Linked DNA regions of Homo sapiens: region 2 is linked to region 1. Evidence: promoter capture Hi-C in human tissues and cell types (Jung and others, 2019). All regions are on one chromosome and are shown on one strand. Each heading gives the region's core, a stretch centred on a gene start or on the middle of the fragment in contact. The rest is flanking DNA. Distances are from core to core; before and after follow the strand shown.

What was found. Contacts are between HindIII fragments. The study calls those that stand out against the background at their distance.
Region 2: a fragment that was not itself captured here is called in contact with the fragment with the promoter of PPP4R1 in region 1 in 1 of the 25 tissues and cell types used here (lymphoblastoid cells).

The regions. Positions count from the first base shown.
Region 1 is chr18:9,610,941-9,615,808 of GRCh38, reverse strand. It overlaps PPP4R1 (protein phosphatase 4 regulatory subunit 1), which reads left to right and starts at 1,250. Exons shown (of 20, transcript NM_001042388.3): 1 at 1,250-1,331; 2 at 1,539-1,583. The coding sequence starts at 1,325. It overlaps PPP4R1-AS1 (PPP4R1 antisense RNA 1), which reads right to left and starts at 1,002. Exons shown (of 3, transcript NR_110773.1): 1 at 795-1,002. RefSeq lists silencers at 554-1,063, 1,164-1,433, 1,534-1,783 and an enhancer at 2,054-2,133. The HindIII fragment of the contact is 9,629 bases long and covers 1-4,712 here.
Region 2 is chr18:8,581,491-8,586,358 of GRCh38, reverse strand. No RefSeq gene overlaps it. Among named protein-coding and RNA genes, the nearest start is that of RAB12, 26 kb to the left of the region's middle. The HindIII fragment of the contact is 7,472 bases long and covers 1-4,868 here.

The DNA of each region.
Region 1 (4,868 bases), core at 1-2,500:
CAACACATTGTCCTTGGTCAAGACTACAACGTAGAAAGGAACAAGCTAATTAACTACTTAGAATTCCCTCTCCTAAGAGACCACATCGCCAAAGTGGCACCATGACACAGCTTGGTGTTTTGTTGGTCACTTTAGGAGAACACCATTTTGGAGGCCTTGGGTGGAGCTGGAGATAGAGCCATGGAGGTAGAATCGTGTCGGAAAACCTGGGTTTAGCCCCATTTTGTACTTGGGCGTTTGAGCTAATCGCTTAAGTCACGTAAAACAACAAGACTAATAAAGTCTGGGATACAGACTTTAACACCTCAAGTGCTGCCAAAAGTATTTAGAAGACAAAGCGAATCATAGGCACCCTTCACCGAGCACCTCCTAGACATCAAGAACCATGCTAGGTTCCCTACATTCTTCATTTAATGCCAATAACCCCACGAGGCAGTTATCACCTTCATTCTACAAATGGGCCCCACTCCTACCAATTAACTGGCTGAATCAGGATCTGACCCCGGGCCTGCCAACGCTCCCGCTGGTGGATTGCCCGCCTTGTCAGCTCGAGTTGGCAGGACGTGGGAGTAAAAACCCGGCGCCCCAGCCTTCACCGTGCTGCACGAGGAAGCTGGCTAGGCAGGCATGACTTTGTCAGTCAACCATCCCGCAGCCGGGCCCTGGGCTTTGTTAGCAGCCACTTGGCGAGGGCCCCGGGCGGGTGGGGAGGCGGCGCTTCCTCCAAGAGGAGGTGGGACCCCGGCCCCGACGACCTCGGAGCCGCCCCCGGCCCCGGATCGCCGACGACGTACGTGCAGGCCTGGGGATGGGGCGCTGGCTGCGAGCGGCGCGCCCGCCGAGATGGCTGCGGCTGGCAGGGCGGTGGGCGAGGCCGGTGACCCAATAAAGCGGCCGGGCCGCGGGAGGCCCCGCCCGGCCGGGTTCCGGCACTCGCCGCAGGGTCCCGGCCGGCGGCAGGTTGCGCGCCCCCGTCCGCAGCGCTCGGCGTGAGGGCGGCTCGGGAGGAGGGTGTGAGCGCGCGTCGCCGGGCCGGGACCCGGCAAGCAGCGGGAAAGGCGGGAGGCGGGAGCGCCGGTCGCCCGGGAGCCGCGCGGAGGGGCAGGCGGGGCGGGGCGGGGCGCGGCCGGGGGCCCGGGCGGCCGGGAGCCGCGCCGCCCGCGGCAGGCCCGGGCCCTCGGCCCGCCCCGCGCGCGCGCCCCCGCCAGCCCGGCCCTCCTCCTCCCCGCCGCCCCTCCCGCGCGCGTCCACCGGCTCCCCGGCTCGCGCCGCTCCATGTAGCCCCGGCTCCCCGGGCGGCCGCGGAGGAGGGGGCGACCACAAGATGGCGGGTACGTGGCCCCCTGTTCTCCGGGCGGCGGCGGCTCCTCGAGCCCACCCGCCCTCCGCCGCAGCCCTGAGTGGCTGCCGGGCCGGGGCCGGCGTGGGGTCCCGGCGCGGGAAGGCGCCCCCGGGGCGGGGGGGAGGCGGGCGGGGGGGGGGCGTCGCGCCGGGCCCCGGGGCGCTGACCGGGCCTTTCTTCTCTCCCCTCGGCGCAGACCTCTCGCTGCTTCAGGAGGACCTGCAGGAGGACGCAGACGGATGTGAGTGGCCCGGCCTCGCGGTGGCCTGGCAGTCCGCGGGGAGCGGCCGGGGAGGGCGGGCGGCGGCGAGGCCTGGGCCGGGCCCTGGCTGGCTGAGGGGACGGTGGGCGAGGGCGGCCCCAGGCGGGCTGGGGTGGCGATCGGGGGGGAAAATCTCGCGTCCGTGAGGAAACGGCGCGCCCAGGTTCCGCTGGGGGAGGGAGACGCCCGGAGTAACGCCCAAGTTCGCTTTCCGCCCTTCGCTCTCTTCTCCCGGCGCCCCCGAATCGCCTGCGGGCTCAGCAGTGGCGCGGCTGTTTTGGAAGGAGAAGCGGTGGGGCAGGATTTGAAGTGGGGTTTGGGTGTGTTTCTGCCCCTGGTGTCCCCTTCCCCCGTCACTCTAGGAAGGAAGAGGCTCGCGCGGGAGGTGTGTTTCCTTAGAGTCGCTCTTCCAGGAGCGCCCGGGGGTCAGCCTGGGCCCCGGCTAGCCGTCTGGGCTCCCCGACCCGGTTTTGGATTGTTTGAGGATGACATACCTGTCATTTTACTTTGGCTGGTAGCAGTTTTCAGATGCTCCCGATTTGATTAGTGGATTACGAGAAGGTTAGAAGGTGTGGCCTCCGCAGGAATTACTAGGTTTGGAGAGCATATTTCTTTAATGCGGATGTTCAGAAATCACCCAGCCCTCCTTCAGTGTTAACAGTGCAGCTTTCCTTTGAGGTACTGAAGTTTTTAAAGAGTTGACGCTTTTATTTTTAAAAAGACAAAGTTTCTGACATTTCCTGATGGCGACGGAATTGATATTTAGAAAGGAATTTTTCGTCTTATATGTACTTTTCTAAGCCTCAGAAAATAATTTGGGTCACGATAGAAAAGACAAAAGAGTTAAGCAGGTTTGTATTGAAAGAAGTGACAAATTGCAGTTAACTTAAAATAGTTTCTATTCTTGCTAATCTTCCAAAATAGCGACCCATCAAAAAATCAATAGGTTTTGAGATGCATTTTAAAAATGCAGAGTGTGCAAAATATATAAGCGAAGATCATGGGATACATAAGGGACCAAGAAATTGTTCTGAGTTGAGATGATAACCATAGTAGGATTGTGGTCTGTTTAGTGGAAAGCCTACCGGATGCTGAGATTGACTGTCTAGTACCTGTATAAGTAATTTCAGAGATGGCTGCAGTTTGAAATTACTCTTTTAAATACTCTGTAGTTAATCCTTAGCATTGTCTAATGTGGTTCCCTTACTCAGAGTAAACTTAATTTTTAGATTCCTGGTTGTTTTGAGTAAAGTAAGGGGGATTTACTATTTAGATGGATTATCTGAAACGAGTAATTTATCTTTAAAGTAAATGAACCACATCCAAACTTTTGCTAAGTCTGTGTTTTTAGTGAGGTGGCTCAAAACAGCTCTCTTAAAGGGAGCAGTACTCATGTAGTGAAGGGCAGCTTTAACATTTTATTTAATGTTTACCTTAAGCCACTTATCTGCCTAATAGTAAGTTTGAGATATTATTTAAGGCATCTGTTGATTTCAGATCTCTTGCCAGGTTAGGATTGGAGAAATGGCCCTGATTATGTTACCTCGAGGAGGGCTTTTTATATTTATGTTCGACTTCGTAAATAGAAGATTCATTTATTCAGCAAGTATTTATGACTGGAGCAAAAACTTCTCACTCCTGAAGGATGAAATGCAGTCTCAGTTTCTTCCTTAGCCCCCAAGAAGCACAGTGTAGAGGGGAAGGCATACCTGTGAAAAATTCAACCATGAGTTTCAACACTCTGCCAGGTACTGGGGATGGAGCTTTGAGAAAGATGGGCACAACCCATGCCCTCTAGTGGTTTACAAGCAGTTTTGAATCTAGGTGTACAGTACAGTATTACAGTTACCACTGGAGCCAGGCTGCTCTGTTTGTCTTAGCAGTGTCTTTTTGGGCAGACTTGGGCAACTCACTTAACCTCCCTATGCCTCAGTTTTGTCATTTGTAAGTAGGCATAAGAAATATTACCTACTTCATAGAGTTGTTCAAGGCTGTACATGAGTTAGTGCCTCTGAAGCACTTGGAACAATTCCTGGTAAACAGCGATGATTATGATTATGTTTGCTGTTATGAGAAAAGAGCAAGGGAAGCTTAAAAGAAGAGCAGAGAAGGAAACACTGATGTTGAACCTTACAGAATGAAGGTACTTAAAGATGCTGCCAATGCTCGCAACTAAATTTTTTTTTTTTTTGAGATGGAGTTTCACTCTTGTTGCCCAGGCTGGAGTGCAAAATGGCGCGATCTCGGCTCACCGCAACCTCTGCCTCCCGGGTTCAAGTGATTCTCCTGCCTCAGCCTCCCAAGTAACTGGGATTACAGGCGTGTGCCACCACGCCTGGCTAATTTTGTACTTTTAGTAGAGACGGGGTTTCTCCATGTTGATCAGGCTGGTCTCGAACTCCCGACCTCAGGTGATCCACCTGCCTTGGCCTCCCAAAGTGCTGGGATTACAGGCGTGAGCCACTGCGCCCGGCTGCAACTAACTTTTTAAAGATTCTGTTTCCTGTGCATTTTAATTTAGGATAAAACAGACATTGAAGGCACAATAGTTATTTGCATATTCATAATTTGGTTGAAGGCTTTGTTAGAGTAATTGCTTATTTTTCTCAGTTACTAAAGTTTTTACAGGTGATACCTTTACCCAGAATATTCAGGAACAAAGGACTTTTGGACATATGGCCAGTTGAAGGACCACTTCCCATCTCTTGTGAAGGGAGAAAGAATGAGGGGGAACACTGGGCCATGGTGCCTCCTTAGAGAGCAAGATGGTTGGTAAAGGACTGAGACAGCTGTCACATCCTGGAGAAGCTGGAGAAGGTAGAGGACCCAAAGGTAGAGGAACGGAGCTTGGGCTGCCCTTATAACACGGTTGTTATCTCGTGAGCCTGAGTTTCTCTGTCTATGGTAAAACTCCAGAGTATGGAGCCCAACCTCCAGAGTAGTTGTAAACAAGTCCTACTACTTCAGCCAAGCTAGGTGTAAGTTGGCCCTTGGGATGGGAAGAAATTGTTTTCTGGTCAAGCTCTAGAATCTTGGTTGACCTTCCTAAATGCAGAACCTGGACTATGAGGGAAGAGACAGTAAGTTCTGTTGTGCAGATGATCTAGGAAAGGACCTAGCTGGAGTCTAGGACTTGAAAGAGGGGCATTGCCAGACATTGCTAAGAGTCTCAGGTCTTTCGATTTGATTTGTTTTAATCCCGTCTCTGTACAGAGGCACAGAGTCGGGGAAAAGGTTGGTCAAAGACTGACTTGACTGATAACC
Region 2 (4,868 bases), core at 910-3,409, 1.0 Mb after region 1:
TAGATTTCTCAAGTGGGAGTCACACACCAGCCTCCTGGGCCCCCTACCACATGGGACACACAGCAGCTCTCCATGTGGCACCTTCAGTGCCCCTCTTAGCAGCTTGAGGACAAACCTCCCCATTTTTCCTCCTTGGGAGCTGGGACTTAGAACGGATCAACAGCTTTCCCTAAAAAGTCTCTGCACAAATCCCTCCCATCTCCACACATTCTGGCCTTTGATATAGGTGAGGGTTAAAGCTTCTCACCAAAGACCCTAAAAGCTAGACTCCTTACTTGGAACCTCAGGTTGGCACACGATCTTTCTCATCTTAGGGTCTCAGCCAAACCTTCCATTTTAAAAAAGTTTATTTTTATTTTTATTTTTGTAGAAGCAGGGTCTCATTCTGTTGCTCAGGCTGGAGTGCATTGCCGCAATTGTGACTGCAGCCTCAAACTCCCAGACTCAAGTGATCCTCCTGCTTCAGCCTCCTGAGTAGCTGGGACCACAAGCATGCACCACCATACCCGGCTAGGTGTTTAATTTTTTGTAGAGATGGTATCTCACTATGTTGCCCAGGCTCATCTCGAGCTCCTAGGCTCAAATGATCCTCCTGCCATGGGCCCCCAAAGTGCTGGGGTTACAGGCACGAGCCACTGTACACGGCTCAAAACTTCCATTTTTATATTCTATTATGTACTATATAATGCCTCCCAGAAAGCCACCCACAGCCCCACCCAGCAATAATTATTACTACACAATACATATTTTTGTATTTATTAATACATTAATTTTAAATAAAATAATATTACTTCATCTTTGAAAACTGTTTTTTCTTTGGAAAATTAAACAATGCAACTGTATTTTTTTCTCAGTCCATCCATTTAAAGAAATTAGGCATTGGAGGCCTTACATCACTCTGCTTTCGAGTTAAAACTGGAAATGATAATACTTTTCATTTATATAGCACTTTAGCGTTTAAAAAGGAGGGCATTCAAATTGCTTATTTCACCACTTGATTGTTCAAAATGAGGAGACATGGAAGAACTGTTAAGAAAAAATGGAGCTACAAATAAGACAAATAAGGCATGCCTTTGTGTCCACCCCAAATCCATAAGCAAGTGAGGAAGCACACAAAGGATTTTAAAACTTTGGAAGAAGATTTGTACCTCGATCAAGATGACAGTTTTATTATTTATCTCAAATGTTCTTCCTCATTGATGGTCATACTATTTAAAACGTTTTGGATTTTTCTTGTTCTTCCCTGGAAAGAGGCATTCAAACTTGGGAAGATTTAACCTATGCTGGCCGGTGTGAATGGTGTGAAATGACTGCTCTCCAGTGCTTTCCGCAGGCAGCCCCGAGACCAGGTCGGGCTCTCCAAGTAGGGATTTGCAGAGAATGTCGGTGCCTAAGCCACTGCATTACCCAGACAATGCATGCTTGCTTTTTGACTTGCTGCCTTAATTTCATCTGCAGAGCGGGACGGGACTGCTCCACACTGGGGCTAGTCCTTTTATTTGGAATAAAGGCTTGTTAATGATGGAACTACTGCTTTCCATCCCCAAAATAAAAGACAACTTTAAAAATTGTCTCCACTTCCTGCTCCTCCTGCTGCTGCTCCTCCTTCTGTCCTCCCTCCCTCTCCCCTTCCCCTCTTCCCCTCTCTCCTCTTCTCCCTCCCTCCCTCTCTATTTTGTTCTCTACTTAAACCTTCCTCTCCAACTTTACTAGCGCAGGAGACATCTTAGCACTTGCCTGGCGACTGAAGCTCTCTGTTTTCCCCACCGGGGAGAAAGAATTGGCAGTCAGAAGCCAAAGTCCTCCGCCGCCCATACCAAGTTCTTCCTTGTACCTGGGCATGAGGCGCAGAGAGCCAGGGAGTCACCCAGCCTTTATGAGGAAGTGGGCTAACCTTAGACCCTGTCTCCTGATGACCTCATCTCTTAGCTCTGTCTACCTCTGTAAGATATTTGATCAGAGCAAATGGGTTTCCCTCTGAGTAACATGGGGCCTGTCGAACCCTCTTAGACCCAGAACCCCTCAGCCACAGTGCTGTGCTGCTTCCTGGTCTGTGTTGGGGGACATTCTCGCTGTCTATCATGGCCCCCAGTCTGTGCCCAGGTATACTCAGGCTCACCTGGCTTCCCAGGGACACTTTTCATTTCAGGCTTGGAAGGTACGGTGAAATCCATGTTTGCCACATCTTTTAATGTGACCTGGATCTTTCAATAATTGTTGACTTATTATTTAATTAATTTCTTAGTTTTTGCATCCAAAAAATGTTTGTTGAGTGCTTCTACTGCTTTGAGTCCTGAGCCAGCTGCTTAAAGGGTTCCAGCCTTTGGAGACCTGTCAATCCCACAGAAGATCCTATGTGTCTCCTTCTGTCTCTGCCTACTGGCCTGCTAAGGATTCAGTGTACAAGATGCCTCCGGCGCTTATTCAGATCCTCTCAGCCTCACTCACACATTGTCCAACTACAGTTGCAGCCACCAGATAGTGCGGGCTCTGATGGCTTTGTGAAGGTGCAGCCTGGTGATGCCTTGAGTCCCCACAGGCCCATGCCAAGCACCTCTCACTCCCCTCCCCAGGGCTTCCTGGATGCCATCCATGGCACCTGCTTAGCACCTGTGCATGTGTAACCTACACACAAAGGAGTTAACTCCTGTGGGGCACCCTTGGCCAGTGGGTGACAAGAGCTTCCTTTTTTCATTGCTTTGTCAGGGAAGTAAATCAGAAGTAATACCACATCCTGGGAGACACTGCAGTGATCAGCACCATCAAAGATGAAGGATGTAGGGGGTGTGAACCCCATCATATCCTCGTAAATTCTCTGGGTGGTCCCTGCACACCCCCGATGGACCATGCCAGAGGCCAGTGGATTATACAAACATAAACAATTGGTAGCCAGTGGCACCAGCTGTGCTGGATGTGATGTCTTTATGGGAGCACGTGGGCTCCTGTTTTGGCATGTGGCATGCAACTATTGATCTGGCAAATGCATTTTTTTCAATTGTCATCAATAAAAGTATCAAAAGCAGCTTGCTTTTACAGGAAAGTACTCCAGGACTTTGTCAACTCTCCTATTCTTTGTCATCATAAAATCTATTGAAACATTGATTACCTAGACATTCCACAACCGCCATGCCAGTTTACTTTATTGATGATATCATGCTTAGTGGACTTGCTGAGTATAAATTGGCAAGAACTCTAGAGGCCCTAGTAAAATATGAGAGTGGCTGAGGGTGAGAGATAAACACCATGAAGATACAAGAATCTGTTACTTTGGTAAAGATTTTAGGGATCAAGTGGTCTGGGCAAAGAAGACAAAGCCACCTTGGGAAAGGGGAAATGGTTGCACCTCACATCCCCTACTAGTTAAAAAAAAAGATGAGGCACTTCATGAGGCTCTTTGGGTTGTGGAGACACTTGGAAATGCCACTCTCATCCATTTGTAGAGTGGCTTGGAAGGCCACCAGCTGTTTCTGTTTTTGTTTTGAGACAGGGTCTGGCTCTGTCACCCAGGCTGGAGTACAGTGTCTCCATCACGGCTTACTGCAGCCTGGACCTCCCAGGCACAAACAATCCTCTCACCTCAGCCTCCCAAGTAGCTGGGACCACAGGTGCATGCCAGCACACCTGGTTAATTTTTAAAACTTTTTGTAGAGATGGGATCCCACTATGTTGTGCAGTCTGATCTTGAACTCCTGGGTTCAAGTGATTCTCCCACCTCGGCCTCGCAAAGTGTTGGGGTTATAGGCATGAGCCACTGTGCCCAGCCTAGGGCCACCAGTTTTAAGTGGGGTTCAGATCAAGAGAGGGCTCTGCAGTGGGTCCAGGCTACCCTTCCATTCAGGTGATATGACCAAGCAGAAGTGATGCTGCTGGAGGTATCTGTGGTGGTGAGGAGGCTGTATGGCAAGTCCTTAGTGTTCTGAAGTAATGCCATCCTGCAGCAGAGAACTATTTGCCCTTTGAAGAACAACTCCTGGTGTGTTCCTGGCCCTAGTAGGGACTGACTTCCTTTCCAGAGACACCAAGTACCTCTGTGATAGAACTGACCTCCGTGAGCTGGAGATATGCAGCTGTGCCATGGGAAGGTAATGCTGCGTTCGAGGTTAGCCGTGAGCAGGCCCAGAGGAGCTGAGTATTACATAGACAGGCGGCCCTGAATCCCAAGGAAACAATCTCTGTGTCAATGATGTCCCTGCCTCAACTCAACCCTTGGGCTTCATTGGTGGAGGGAGGAGAGGTTCCTCATGAGCTGGGAGAGGTAGACAAAATTCAGGCCTGGTTTACAGATGGTTTATCATGATATTTTGGTGCTAGCCATCAATGGATTGCTGCCACTGTTTGAAGTAGCCTTAAAAACAGTACTAAAAGAAGGGCAGGGTGCGGTGGCTCACGCCTGTAATCCCAGCACTTTGGGAGGCCAAGACGAGTGGATCATGAGGTCAGGAGATCGAGACCATCCTGGCGAACATGGTGAAACCCCGTCTCTACTAAAAATACAAAAAAAAATTAGCTGGGTGTGGTGGCAGGCGCCTGTAGTCCCAGATATTCGGGAGACTGAGGCAGGAGAATGGCATGAATCCGGGAGGCGGAGCTTGCAGTGAGCCGAGATAGCACCACTGCACTCCAGTCTGGGCAACAGAAAGAGACTCTGTCTCAAAGACAAAACAAAACAAAAACAACAACAACAACAACAACAAAACAGTACTGAAAGAAACTCTTCCAGTGGGCAGAGCTGCAAGTGGTATTCTCAGTTGTTCCCCTATGTGGAAAGTGGTCGGAGGTACAAGTGTCCATAGATTTCTGGGCAGTGGCAAATGGCTTGGCCAGACAGGGATGTGACTGGTGGATTCGAACTCCATGTAATTAATGAA